Linked DNA regions of Homo sapiens: region 1 is linked to region 2. The links are contacts of gene promoters, found by promoter capture Hi-C in human tissues and cell types (Jung and others, 2019). All regions are on one chromosome and are shown on one strand. The core of a region is centred on a gene start or on the middle of the fragment in contact, and the rest is flanking DNA. Distances in the headings are between cores, read along the strand shown.

Region 1 (5,810 bases), core at 2,824-5,323, 51 kb after region 2:
TATAATAAAATGATGAAGTAAATAAAGAAAAAGGAAGACACAGAATTCAGAAACAGTTGAGTCCAGTGTAACAACAGAATATAGGCAGAAAGGTCATCAAAAACAGACTAGAGCAGGAGGCTGAAAGCAGAATATACAGAGAGAAAAGAAGTGAATTCAACAGAGTATTTAATTGAATGGAGAATTTGAAAATGACTGTGAGTGTGTGGAAAGCAACCAGTACAAGGTAAAAAGAAAGGCAACTAGAAACTTCCGTAAAAACAAAAAGCTGATCCCAAAAGGAAATATAAACACAGTAAGCTAAGATCTGCAATCAACAATATTCAGATGGTTGTAATAATGTTCATGCTGTTTATTTTCAGCTTTTGAAATCAATCAATAACCAAACATAAAATCCTAACTGGTTACAGAATAGAATTTAAGAATTATCAGACTTGACAATGTAAGAGCCAACGACGTGGAAAAGGGAAAGGGAAAGGAAGGGAAGGGTCCCTCCAACATACCACAAAATGGAGAATTGAGATATGGTTTATAGTTAATATAATAAACTAGATATGTAAATATAATAATTATTTTTATAAAATTCTTGCTCCTTATAGAAATATAGAAATTGCTAAAACAAACAAACAAAACCCCTCTTAGTAAACCATAATCCTATTATCCAGAGTATATGGGTTTGAATGTAAGCCTGGAATTAACCGTCAGTATGGCTGTAAGTCATTTAACCACTTATAATATTTTCTTTTTTCCTTCAGGTAATTTATCTATATACTTTTAAATAGTATATAGTATATATAAAAGCAACAGTATATGAGAACTGTATTATATACACAATTTTTAATCCAGACTTTTTCACTTTAAAGCAAAAAGGTAAATCTCTGGACACATAGCATATCATGCACTTGTATATGCGTATTAATAAATATACTTCTGAATATGCCTTTAACCATAACGCAGTCAGGGGTTTCCCAGAGATGGAACTTGAACCAAATATAAAAAGAAACTAAGCTTGCAAAAGTAGAAGGGGACTGAGTGGGAAGTAGTGATGAGGTATTATAGGCACTGAGAAAAGTGTGAGCAAAGGCACAGAGAAGAGCAAGCACGTGCCTCTAGGCTGCAGTAAAAGGTGCCTGAGAGTGAAGAGATGAGGCTGGAAAGAGATTATGAAGAGCTCAGTAAATCATGTTAGGGATCCTGATATTTTTCCCATAACAGACATGACAACAGGGATAGTGGACCAGGTTTGCTTTGGCAGTCCAGAATCTAGCATGACGTTCACCACAAGGGAACACAAAATGTTTTTGTAATGAATGATGCTTAGGAAGGCAGAAATAGCTTCTGGACATTCAATCTGCGTGCCCCAGGTGGTGGGGATAATGTCATTTGATAAGGGAAGGAATCTAAGAGAAAAACAAATTTTAAAGGTTTAAAGAATGTCTGGGCAACATTCTTAGTGATTCTGTAACCTAACCTCATTTAAAAAAAAAAAAGTCACTGGTGATTATGTAATACACCCCAGATTCAACTTTAGGCTCTAAATGTATGTATTGTCTTCAGGAAGCCTGCATAACCTCCAAGTAAGCACAAGATTTAATCTGCAACGTACACTTCTTAGGGGAAGAGGATCCATAATCTTCCCAGGATTCCCAAAGGGGCTGCAACCCCAGAAAGGTTGCAGTGCCTACAATGGATGAGCAAGTGGAGAGGTGACAGACGTGGGAGAGGGACAACTACCTGAGACAGGGAGGGGATACAGAGCAGGTGAACAATTAGCTTTGTCCAAAGACACCTCTTCCTAAGCCTGGTGGAATTTATGGCTGTGTTTGAGTGTGTAACTTCGTGTTAGGGATTGAAGTCTTTCTCCTGTGCTCCCAGAGTACTGTACGTGATTTCGCCATCAGTTTTGCATCACTGTGCTCCACTTAATACATATCTGTTGGTCTCATTTGAGGATGAGGACAGATTTCCTGGCCCTACTCTTAATGCCAATCACTAGGCCTGCAACAGAGCTCTTAGCCTGACAGCTAAAAGTCTGATAGCTCTCAGCAACTTGGGAAAATGGGGCTTCAGAGTTCCCAACCACTCCTAGCAAGACTACCCAAAAAAGATGGGAGATGAGCCCAAAGAATAGGAAACTAAGCAAACTGACAAAAGGTGGTCACTCCTCCCTTATAAAACATAAAGAAAATGGCAGGCTGCAATTTATTTTGAGGACTGGAATCAGAAGGCAGAGTTATTAGCTGGGGAAGGATCTGATCTGTCTAGTAATCAATCCACTTGGCTCATATGATTTGTGCAGAATCAGAGGCCCTGAACCTGGATGCAGATTTGTGGAAACTGAGATCTGAAGAGGAAATCCAAGTAGAAATGTAAAAAGTCATAATACATACCAAAAGCATGTTATGTAAAACTTGGTTTGCTCATATAAATGTTTGGTATATTCACTTAAATACAAATAAAATAAGCTAGGTGGCAGAATCCTCTAACATCCAATGGTTGGCAGAGGCACTGATGGACACCTAGTTCAGCTAGTGTAAAGTAAGTCTCCTGTTCTGCTAAAAATACATAGAATGCTTTGCACGTACAGATCCTTATACTGGAGCACCCCCACCCCCTCCACCTTTGATCACACACATTCTTGGCCTGCAGCCTTTACTTTTTGCTACAGTGGCTCATAACCTTTGCTTGTCATTGTAATCCCCTCCAGAGTTTTAAAAAATACAGAGGTCTAGAAATGGAAATTTTAAAAAAGTGCCCAATGTGATTCTAACATGAAGCCAAGGTTTAAAACCACTGCTTTACTGCAAGGTTGGGTCAGTGAATCTCAAACCTAGTTTTGCATCATAATCCCCTGCGTAGCTTTTCTGAACTACCTATGAGTGAAAATCACAATCATCCATAACTGAATATTATGAGGATAAACATATGTGATGGTAGAATGGTTTAACTGTCTTAATGGTCATAAATCCCAGCAGGTATTCTTTAAGCAAAGTAGTTTCTGTCTCTTGGTGGGTCAAGGTCACAGAGTTTTCTCAAATCTTCAGACCTGCTCTCCTGATATTCTCAGCTTCCTGATAAGGCAGGGGGAAAAAACTAACTTGTTCCTACTCTCAGCAGAGACAGGGGGTGGTTTATTTGGGTCTCTCCATTCCATCAGGGAGACTGGAACAGTCACTGTTAGGATTGGTGAGGGCATGAGTATTTGATCCTACTTTTGAATCCTTTTGATTTCTTGTATTTGTGTCTCTATGATTTAGAGTGAAACTGGGAAAGTAAGTTGCATATGTTTTGGAAAAAAAACTAGAGGAGGGAGGAAAAAGGAAATTAATAAGCTTTCTTGTGTATGCCTTCTGTATGTGAAAGTGCACTGTAGGCCAGGCATGGTGGCTCGTGCCTGTATTCCTGACACTCTGGGAAGCCGAGGCAGGTGGATCACCTGAGGTCAGGAGTTTGAGACCAGCCTGGCCAACATAGTGCAACCTCGTCTCTACTAAAAATACAAAAAAGGCTGGGCGCAGTGGCTTACTCCTGTAATCCCAGCACTTTGGGAGGCCAAGGCAGGTGGATCACGAGGTCAGGAGTTCAAGAGCAGCCTGACCAACCCCACTGCTACTAAAAATACAAAAATCAGCTGGGGGTGGTGGCGTGCACCTGTAATTTCAGCTACTCAGGAGGTCGAGGCAGGAGAATCACTTGAACCCGGGAGGCGGAGGTTGCAGTGAGCCAAGATCGTGCCACTGCACTCCAGCCTGGGCAACACAGCAAGGCTCTGTCTCAAAAAAAAAAAAAAAAAAAAATTGGCCAGGCGTGGTGGCATGCACCTGTAGTCCCAGCTACTCGGGAGACTGAGGTAAGAGAATTACTTGAACCTGGGAGGCAGAGGTTGCAGTGAGCCAAGATTGTGCCACTGCACTCCAGCCTAAGACTCCATCTCAAAAACAAAACAAAACTAACACACAAAAGAAGTGCTCTGTAAACTAGAAAACACTATGTGATTAATATTTAGTCTTGCAGAAATGTGATAATAAATGCATGGGACTTCTGCATGAGAGCTGCATCAGGCTCAGCATTTATGATAAATGCTCTTGCATGCCCTGAGGCATTGGAACAGCATGGAGGGACAGAGCCAGAAATCAGGAGACCCAAATTCTAGTCTTAGGTTTGCTGATTTCTGGTCACAGTGCCTAAGGCACACTCCAAACATCTGTCACATCAGCTTCCTCACCTGAAAAATGGGACTACACACCCCTTTCTTTGTCTCCCCTACAGGTCTGCATGGGGATTACAGGTGTTTGGCAAGTGGCATGGCAGAACAGAGAATCTAGATTCAGGACCTGGACTTGGATATAAGCTGTCACTTGTTACTTGGCCTTGCACTAAATGACCATTCTCAGGTAAATGGGCAACCACCTGTTTCAGTGTTGTAAGGACTGAGGTAGGTGATCTATGTGAAAGCGTGAGATACGTGCCAGGTATCATGATCAATACATAAGGGTACACAACAAAGAATAAAAGTTCTATATAAATACAAGGCAATATTATTACATAACTCTACCTATTGCATAGTTTTATAAATCATTTTTCCAGGAGTAAAGGCTGAATGGTAACAAAGATATCTTACCTTGGCCAGTTTCTTCATCCTTCTAAAAGTTTTTCATATTCCAATACCTCTGAATTTCTCAAAAAATCAAATTAAGACCTTAGGAATCTTATTTCCACCTCCCCTCTCCCATCACTTTCCCTCTTTGGTCTTCTCAGAATGAGAAGAGCTCCACTATTTCTTCTAAACACCATCCAGAATGTGAGAATGAAACCCAAACTGAGACCCCTGGCTGGACTTGAGCAGAATGACAGCAGAGACAACTGGGGCATGCCTCTAGGCAAGCTTTATTCTTTGACTCCTTCATCCAGGAAGGGGCTGTTAGTTGCATCTCACCCAAATGGAATGCGATGGGAATTGGGGGCTTGAGTTGTTTGGAGAAGGAGCTGTTGATCTTGGCAAATGAATATAGCTGGTGTGTGGTGTCCATCAATCCTTGAGTGCTTGGCCATGGAGACTAGGGAATGGTCAGAACAGACCCAGAGGTCCCCAGATCTTTACAATACCAAGGTTCAGGAGGTATAGACAGTAAGGAAAAAGTCCATTTCCTATTTCTGTCCATTTTCAGTAAAGTTTTTGTTTTGACTGGCTTTTAAAAAATTACCTAGGAAATGGAAAGCTTATAAACATTCGTAAGTGAATTGTTGAACTGCTACCCCAAGTGGTTTCCTTACCCAGTCACCACTTAACCAGAAATATTAGAATACACGGTTCAACCAGAATTCAACCAGGCAGATAACCTGCCTGTTGCTCAAGCAATCATCAGAGTTTTAAAAAACAAAATTAAGCAAAAAAGACCTTTCCCCAAATAGCATCATTACCACTTAGCTTTGTACGACCCATTCCTAGGAAAGCCACATTCCACTTCAGAGAACATGACCGCTTAAGGTACAGTTAAAACAAAGTCCTTGCCTTTAGGTGCTTACTTTTTGTTTTAAATTAGCCTCTGAAATGCTTTTCTTGTGTCTTCTGCTGCATTCCTGAAAACTATAACTTTTAAGGACACAGCCCTCACTTTTATAGAGGAGGAAGAAAACAGCAAAGAGGTGTCTCATTAGGGAGGCAGAAGGTTATGACCAATGCTGGAGGTCTTCCTCTTCCTTACTTGTTATTCAACAAGATGGGTTCTATGGTGTCGCATGAGGTGTGAGTTGGAAATGAAAGCTGCACCACACTTCTCACATTCATAGGGCTTCTCCCCAGTGTGGGT
Region 2 (5,723 bases), core at 3,071-5,570:
AAAAAAGTATTTTTCAGTTATATATCAAGGGATAGACAGACCTAATAAAGACTTCTTACAAATGAGTAAGAAAAAAAGATGAACTGAGAGAAAAATGGAAAATACAAAAAATACACCAAGAATTACAACAGGCCAGTAAACATATCAAAACAATGTTCCATCTTTATGGTAAACAAGGAAATGGAAACTGAAAGAATGAAGAATCAATTTTTACATCAAACTGGAAAATCTATCTTTAATGCTACACTCAAGATTCACAAAGGTACAGGGAGTTTCTCACATACCGGTGCGAATGTAAGTTGGTACCATCTTTCTGGAGCTAATCTGGCAATATACATCAGGTGTGAAAGTTGTAGCTTCAGTTATAGTTAGGATGCTGTGATCAACATTTTGTGGATACAGGAATTCAGAACAGAATGCTCATTTTGTATATACACCACCTGTAGTGTACCTCAGAGTCATCAGTATGCCATAAAAAATGACTATATTCGGCTGGGCGCAGTGGCTCACACCTGTAATCCCAGCAGTCTGGGAGGCCAAGGCAGGTGGATCACCTGAGGTCAGGAGTTCGAGACCAGCCTGCCCAACATGGTGAAACCACGTCTCTACTAAAAAATACAAAAAATTAGCCGGGCGCAGTGGCAGGCACCTGTAATCTCAGCTACTCAGGAGGCTGAGGCAGGAGAATTGCTTGAACCCAGGGGGCAGAGGCTACAGTGAGCCGAGATCACGCCACTGCACTCCAGCTTGGGCGACAAGAGCGAAACTCCGTCTCAAAAAAAAAAAAAAAAGACTATATTCTTTGACCTAGTAATTCTACAAATAGAATTTTCTCAGAAAGAAGTAAATTTCCAGAGAGAAGAGAAACAGAATTCTTCTGTTACTTGTAAAAATATCCCCTGAAATGTACATGGAAATAAAAGTTTTTCTACTGGTGGACACTGAGGATTAGCAAATTATGGTACTTCTAGTTGGTGAAAATTATTTAGGCATTAAGATCATTAAAAATGAAAATATGTGTTTATTGGGAAAAATATTTATGCCATATGTTGAAAAAATCCAGTATAGTAAAATTTCAAGTAGTAATATAATGTAAAATATATGTTTGTTAAAATATACATGTGTCGTGCTTGTGGTTTCAGCTACTCAGGAGGCTGAGGTGGAAGGATCACTTGAACATGGGAGGTAGAGGTCGCAGTGAGCTGTGATAGCACCATTGCATTCCAACCTGGGTGACAGAGTGAGATCCCTCTCAAAAATTAAAAATTAAAAATACATCTGAATAAGATCAAGAAGGAAAAATAATCATCACTGTGGTAAAATAATGAATTGTGAATAATTTCCTCAAATGTCCTCTATTATCTATATTTTGCTCCACTTTAAAAAAAAAACAAATCTATAAGAATATATAACAAATTATTTATTGTGATCATATCTGAAGAATAAAATTATGGTAAACTTTTGCCTTAAGGCCTATCTTTTTGTAATGTTTGAAAATTTTCCCATAGGAATAACTAACTTCTGTAATCAAAGAAAAAGTGAAAAAGCATAATCAGAGATGGCCAGAGATTTATGTACAAAGATCACACTATTACTACAATTGTTAAATAAACAGGCAAATAAACATTGATAGACTAGCAAAGATAGCTTATGAAGGTATCAAAAATCATAATTTCAAAGAATATTCATGAGAAAATATAATATGTTAAAACAGGAAGATACAAAACACTAAAAAACAAGAAATATGCACACATATACTGGCATTAAGCACTCAATAAACAGAAACTATTGTTAATAAACAGATAAAACACACACATTTAAAAAAGACATAAAGAAAACCCACCAAAATATTAACACATTTATCTCTAGGTCAGTTAATGGGTCACTTTAGTTTGTCCTTTATACTCTTCTATATTTTTACTTCTCCTTCAATAAACATATATTACTTTTATAGGTAGAAAAAGTTACTTTTTAAAAACCCAGAAACAAAAACAAAAACAAAATGCCAGATCCAATGGCTATGGTATTGGCCTCCCATTCACAAGATGATAGTAGACTGGATTGGGACTCAGGAAAGTTTGCTCTGCCAATAGCCCATGTGAGTGGGCCTACATGACAGGCTATTTATCTGAAAAGGGTGACAAATTAGACAATATTTACGGGTCATTCCAGCTCTGATAATCTGTGAATCCTTGATGAGTTAATTCACATAAAGCATTCAAAAAGATATCTACTCGATGGCAGGCACTCAACAGGGGTTAGATGCTATTATGGTTGATACTAAAACCTACGGAGAAAGAAAGACATCTTGGTGATGACCACATCCTTCCAATCATGGATCATCTGAGCTGTCAGCAGTTTGTCAATGTCAAGGGTCAGCAAACATTTTCTGTAACAGGCCAGAAAGCAATTTTTTTTAGGTTTAATGGGTTAAATGGAAAATATAGTCTCTGTCTCAACTATTCAACTTTGCCTTTGTAGTCTGAAAACAGAAACAGACAATATGTACTGAATGAGCTTGCCTGTGTTTTAATAAAACAGTTTTACCAAAAAAAGTGGCAGACCAAATTTGGTCCATATTTGCTGACTCCTAGGTCTATAAGTTGCCCAGAAAGTAATGTACAGGTGCTTCTACAAATGCCTATTGTGGAATAATCTGGCTGTTAGTGATTTTAAGATGCTAAAAAGATCCCTCTGCAGATCTGGGGAAAGCTGAGTATTATGGTGAAAGGTAAAAAGGAAACAGGCTCTTAATAGCCCTATCCTGCTAACCTATTAGAGAGCTGGCTTCCTCCCTCTACCTTGTAAGCTTTTCCCCAGATGCCACCTCCTTACCCCTCAATAATTAGCTAAAAGAATCTAAGCAAGCTAGATGAAGTTTTTCAAGAATTTTTAACAATCCCTCCAACGAGACCACATTGAAATGTACTCCTCTCTGAAGCCCTTCTTGGTCTGCATTTTGGCACCAAACAGTGCACTCACCCAAGCTGTGGCAGTACACTTTATCTCTTATGCAGCCTTGGGTCACTTAGCAATGTGATCTGGGACAAGTTTTCTGTTCTCTCTGTACCTCAGTTCCCTCACTTAAAAACTACACATAGGCCTGGCGCGGTGTTTCACGCCTATAATCCCAGAACTTTGGGAGGCCAAGGCGGGTGGATCACTTGAGGTTGGGAGTTCGCGACCAGCCTGACCAACACTGTGAAACCCCGTTTCTACTAAAAATACAAAATTAGCCAGGTGTGGTGGCGCATGCCTGTAATCCCAGCTACTCGGGAGGCTGAGGCAGGAGAATCGCTTGAACCCGGGAGGCAGAGGTTGTGGTGAGCCCAGATCACCCCGTTGCACTCCAGCCTGGGCAACAAGAGTGAAATCCCGTCTCAAAAAAAAAAACAAACCAAAAACCAAAAAACAAAACTGTACACGCAATACGCTGTTGTGAAGATTAAATCAATTAGCACAAATGCTTCAAATAGTGCCTGGTATACAGTAAGTGCTAAATAAATGTAGTTTAAAATATTACCACCAAAATCTGCTTATGCCCTTATCGTCCTAAACAAGACTGGAAGCATCTTTACATGTGGCAGTCTCCGATGTCACTCTTTTGTAGCCTAGCCACTAAATTCGGGGTAATGTTTGGCATATAATGGATAGTAATCCTTCATTGGGAGGCATTAAGGTTTGCATACATGCTATCACATACAAGCTGTCAACTGAGCTTTGTGAAGAAGCAAGGAACAGACTTCTAGACAGTACTTTAGAGATTTCTGTACCCTCCAGAATTGTAACTCAGGTCTCAAGACTCCCAACGAGTGCACTTTACGCTATTTGCCGTCTCCTATAAAAACAGGCTCTAAACAAGTTTCGGAGCTACAGGATCAGCCGGGGGAAGAAACTGGTATCTGATCCCCAGGACCTCGTTTCCTGACATGGGTCCTAGGTCTGTCTTGATCATCTATCCATCACTCATTCACTCATTCATTCATTCACTCCGCCATTTTCCTAGGCATCTCCTCTGTGCCGGGCACTGTGCTGGGCCTTGGAGTCTGCAGTGCTGAGGCTGCAGGCTGGGCGGGCCGAGCCGCTAGGAGTGCCCTACGTCCGGGCAGCACGCGTAGGCAGCAACGTGGAGAGGACCGAGGCCGGGGCTGACTTCCCAGATAACCCTCCAGCCCGCCGCCCCAGCAATGGCTCGCCGGGGTCCTCTCTTTTCCCCTCCCTGGGTCCCAACTCGCTCACTGTGAGATCCACGGACTCTCCGCGGAGCGGCGCAGGCGCTCCCAGAGGTGGACTGGGGCCAGGACACCAGCCTTAACTTCTGAAACCGGAAGAATGGTGGCGCGGCCGGTAGTGCGTCAGCAGCGAGCTCGCGCATCCATTCTCTGATTCTCTAGGAAGCGGGAGGAACATCTCTATGGGACCCTAGAAGAAGGCATTCCCTCCAAACCCAGCCTGTAACTCCAGCTTTGTTTCCCGCCAAGCCCAGCCTGTAACTCCAGCCTTGCTTCCCGTCAAGCCCAGTCGCGTTCCTGATATCCCATTAACAACTATCTTGGCCTGAAACACAGTGGCTACCTCAACCCTCAGGAAAACTGTAGAGGGAGACGTTAGGGATGGAAAGGATGCTGGGTAGGAGCCGGAATGGGCCATCTCAACAAGAAACTAGTATATTCTACCTGCTTAAAATAGTCTCTATTAAGAACCTTGAGTGATCCCCTGTTATGTTAGAATAAAGGACAAACTCCCAATCTAGGCCCACACAAACTGACCTCAATATCAACATCTCTTATTTGGCTATCATATACATTCTGCTCTAAAGTTACTGAATTCCCATTGGCCCCCTGAAATCCCTTGCCTCTTCCTGACTCTAGATCTTTTTCCCAGGATTTTCCCTTTGGAATACTCTCCCTTCCTTCTACCTGCTCTCCCTAACCTCAGCTATCCAATTTATCCTGGTTCTTCAAATCCCAATGCCAATTCTCACTTGACCACCTAGACTGTTGCCCTTATGGGTCTTTACACTCACATATCACTATTAGTTATTCTAGCTCTAGCTAGCCTTCTATTCAGTGCCCCCCTAAATGCATACACTTGTATTTCTTTCGTAGGTATTGTTAGGAAGATACACACAAGTAGCATCCCACCCAAGGACAACTGTGAAAGACCCAATCAGTTCATTTTTATACAACTCTAATCAGCTATATGGAGCTATTATTTATCATTATATCTCAATGTTTAGCACAATGATTGGTAGAGAAGGCATTCAATAAATACTTGTTGAATTCGTTAATCAGAAACAGGTGAAATTTAGATTATTGGCATTTTTGATAAACTGAAAAATGAGGATACCATAGATTAAATCCAGAAAGCAAGCTCTCTGCACATCTGAAAGGATGTACCACGTAGCTGGCATATTCCCGTTTCTTTGGCTCACTCTATCCAATTGTTATCTCCCTTGGTAGAATGTAAGCTGTATGAAGGCAGGGGCCTTCTCTGTTTCATTCATACTATATCCCTAGCACCTAGAGCATGGCTGACATACTAGGCATTCAATCAGTATTTGATGAATGACTAGGTCACCATCAACTTCCAACAAGTTACAGGAAATAGTTACTCCACATAGATGTATACTGCTTGTTTGAGAGCTAAAACTGCTGGAAAATTATCTTTCTTCCCCCAGATTACCTAAAGTGTACATTCCAGAGATGAATGTTGCTTCCCTG

The links. Contacts are between HindIII fragments. The study calls those that stand out against the background at their distance.
Region 1: a fragment that was not itself captured here is called in contact with the fragment with the promoter of ZNF502 in region 2 in 1 of the 25 tissues and cell types used here (pancreas).

What each region holds. Positions count from the first base shown.
Region 1 is chr3:44,659,846-44,665,655 of GRCh38, reverse strand. ZNF35 (zinc finger protein 35) reads right to left here. Exons shown (of 4, transcript NM_003420.4): 4 at 4,865-5,810. The coding sequence ends at 5,709. It overlaps ZKSCAN7-AS1 (ZKSCAN7 ZNF cluster antisense RNA 1), which reads left to right. Exons shown (of 3, transcript NR_157564.1): 2 at 4,270-4,394. Among named protein-coding and RNA genes, the nearest start is that of ZNF35, 14 kb to the right of the region's middle. The HindIII fragment of the contact is 3,806 bases long and covers 2,171-5,810 here.
Region 2 is chr3:44,711,257-44,716,979 of GRCh38, reverse strand. ZNF502 (zinc finger protein 502) reads right to left here and starts at 4,320. Exons shown (of 3, transcript NM_001134442.3): 1 at 4,240-4,320. It overlaps LOC105377056 (a long non-coding RNA gene), which reads left to right. Exons shown (of 3, transcript XR_940788.4): 3 at 1,143-1,463. The HindIII fragment of the contact is 6,909 bases long and covers 1,404-5,723 here.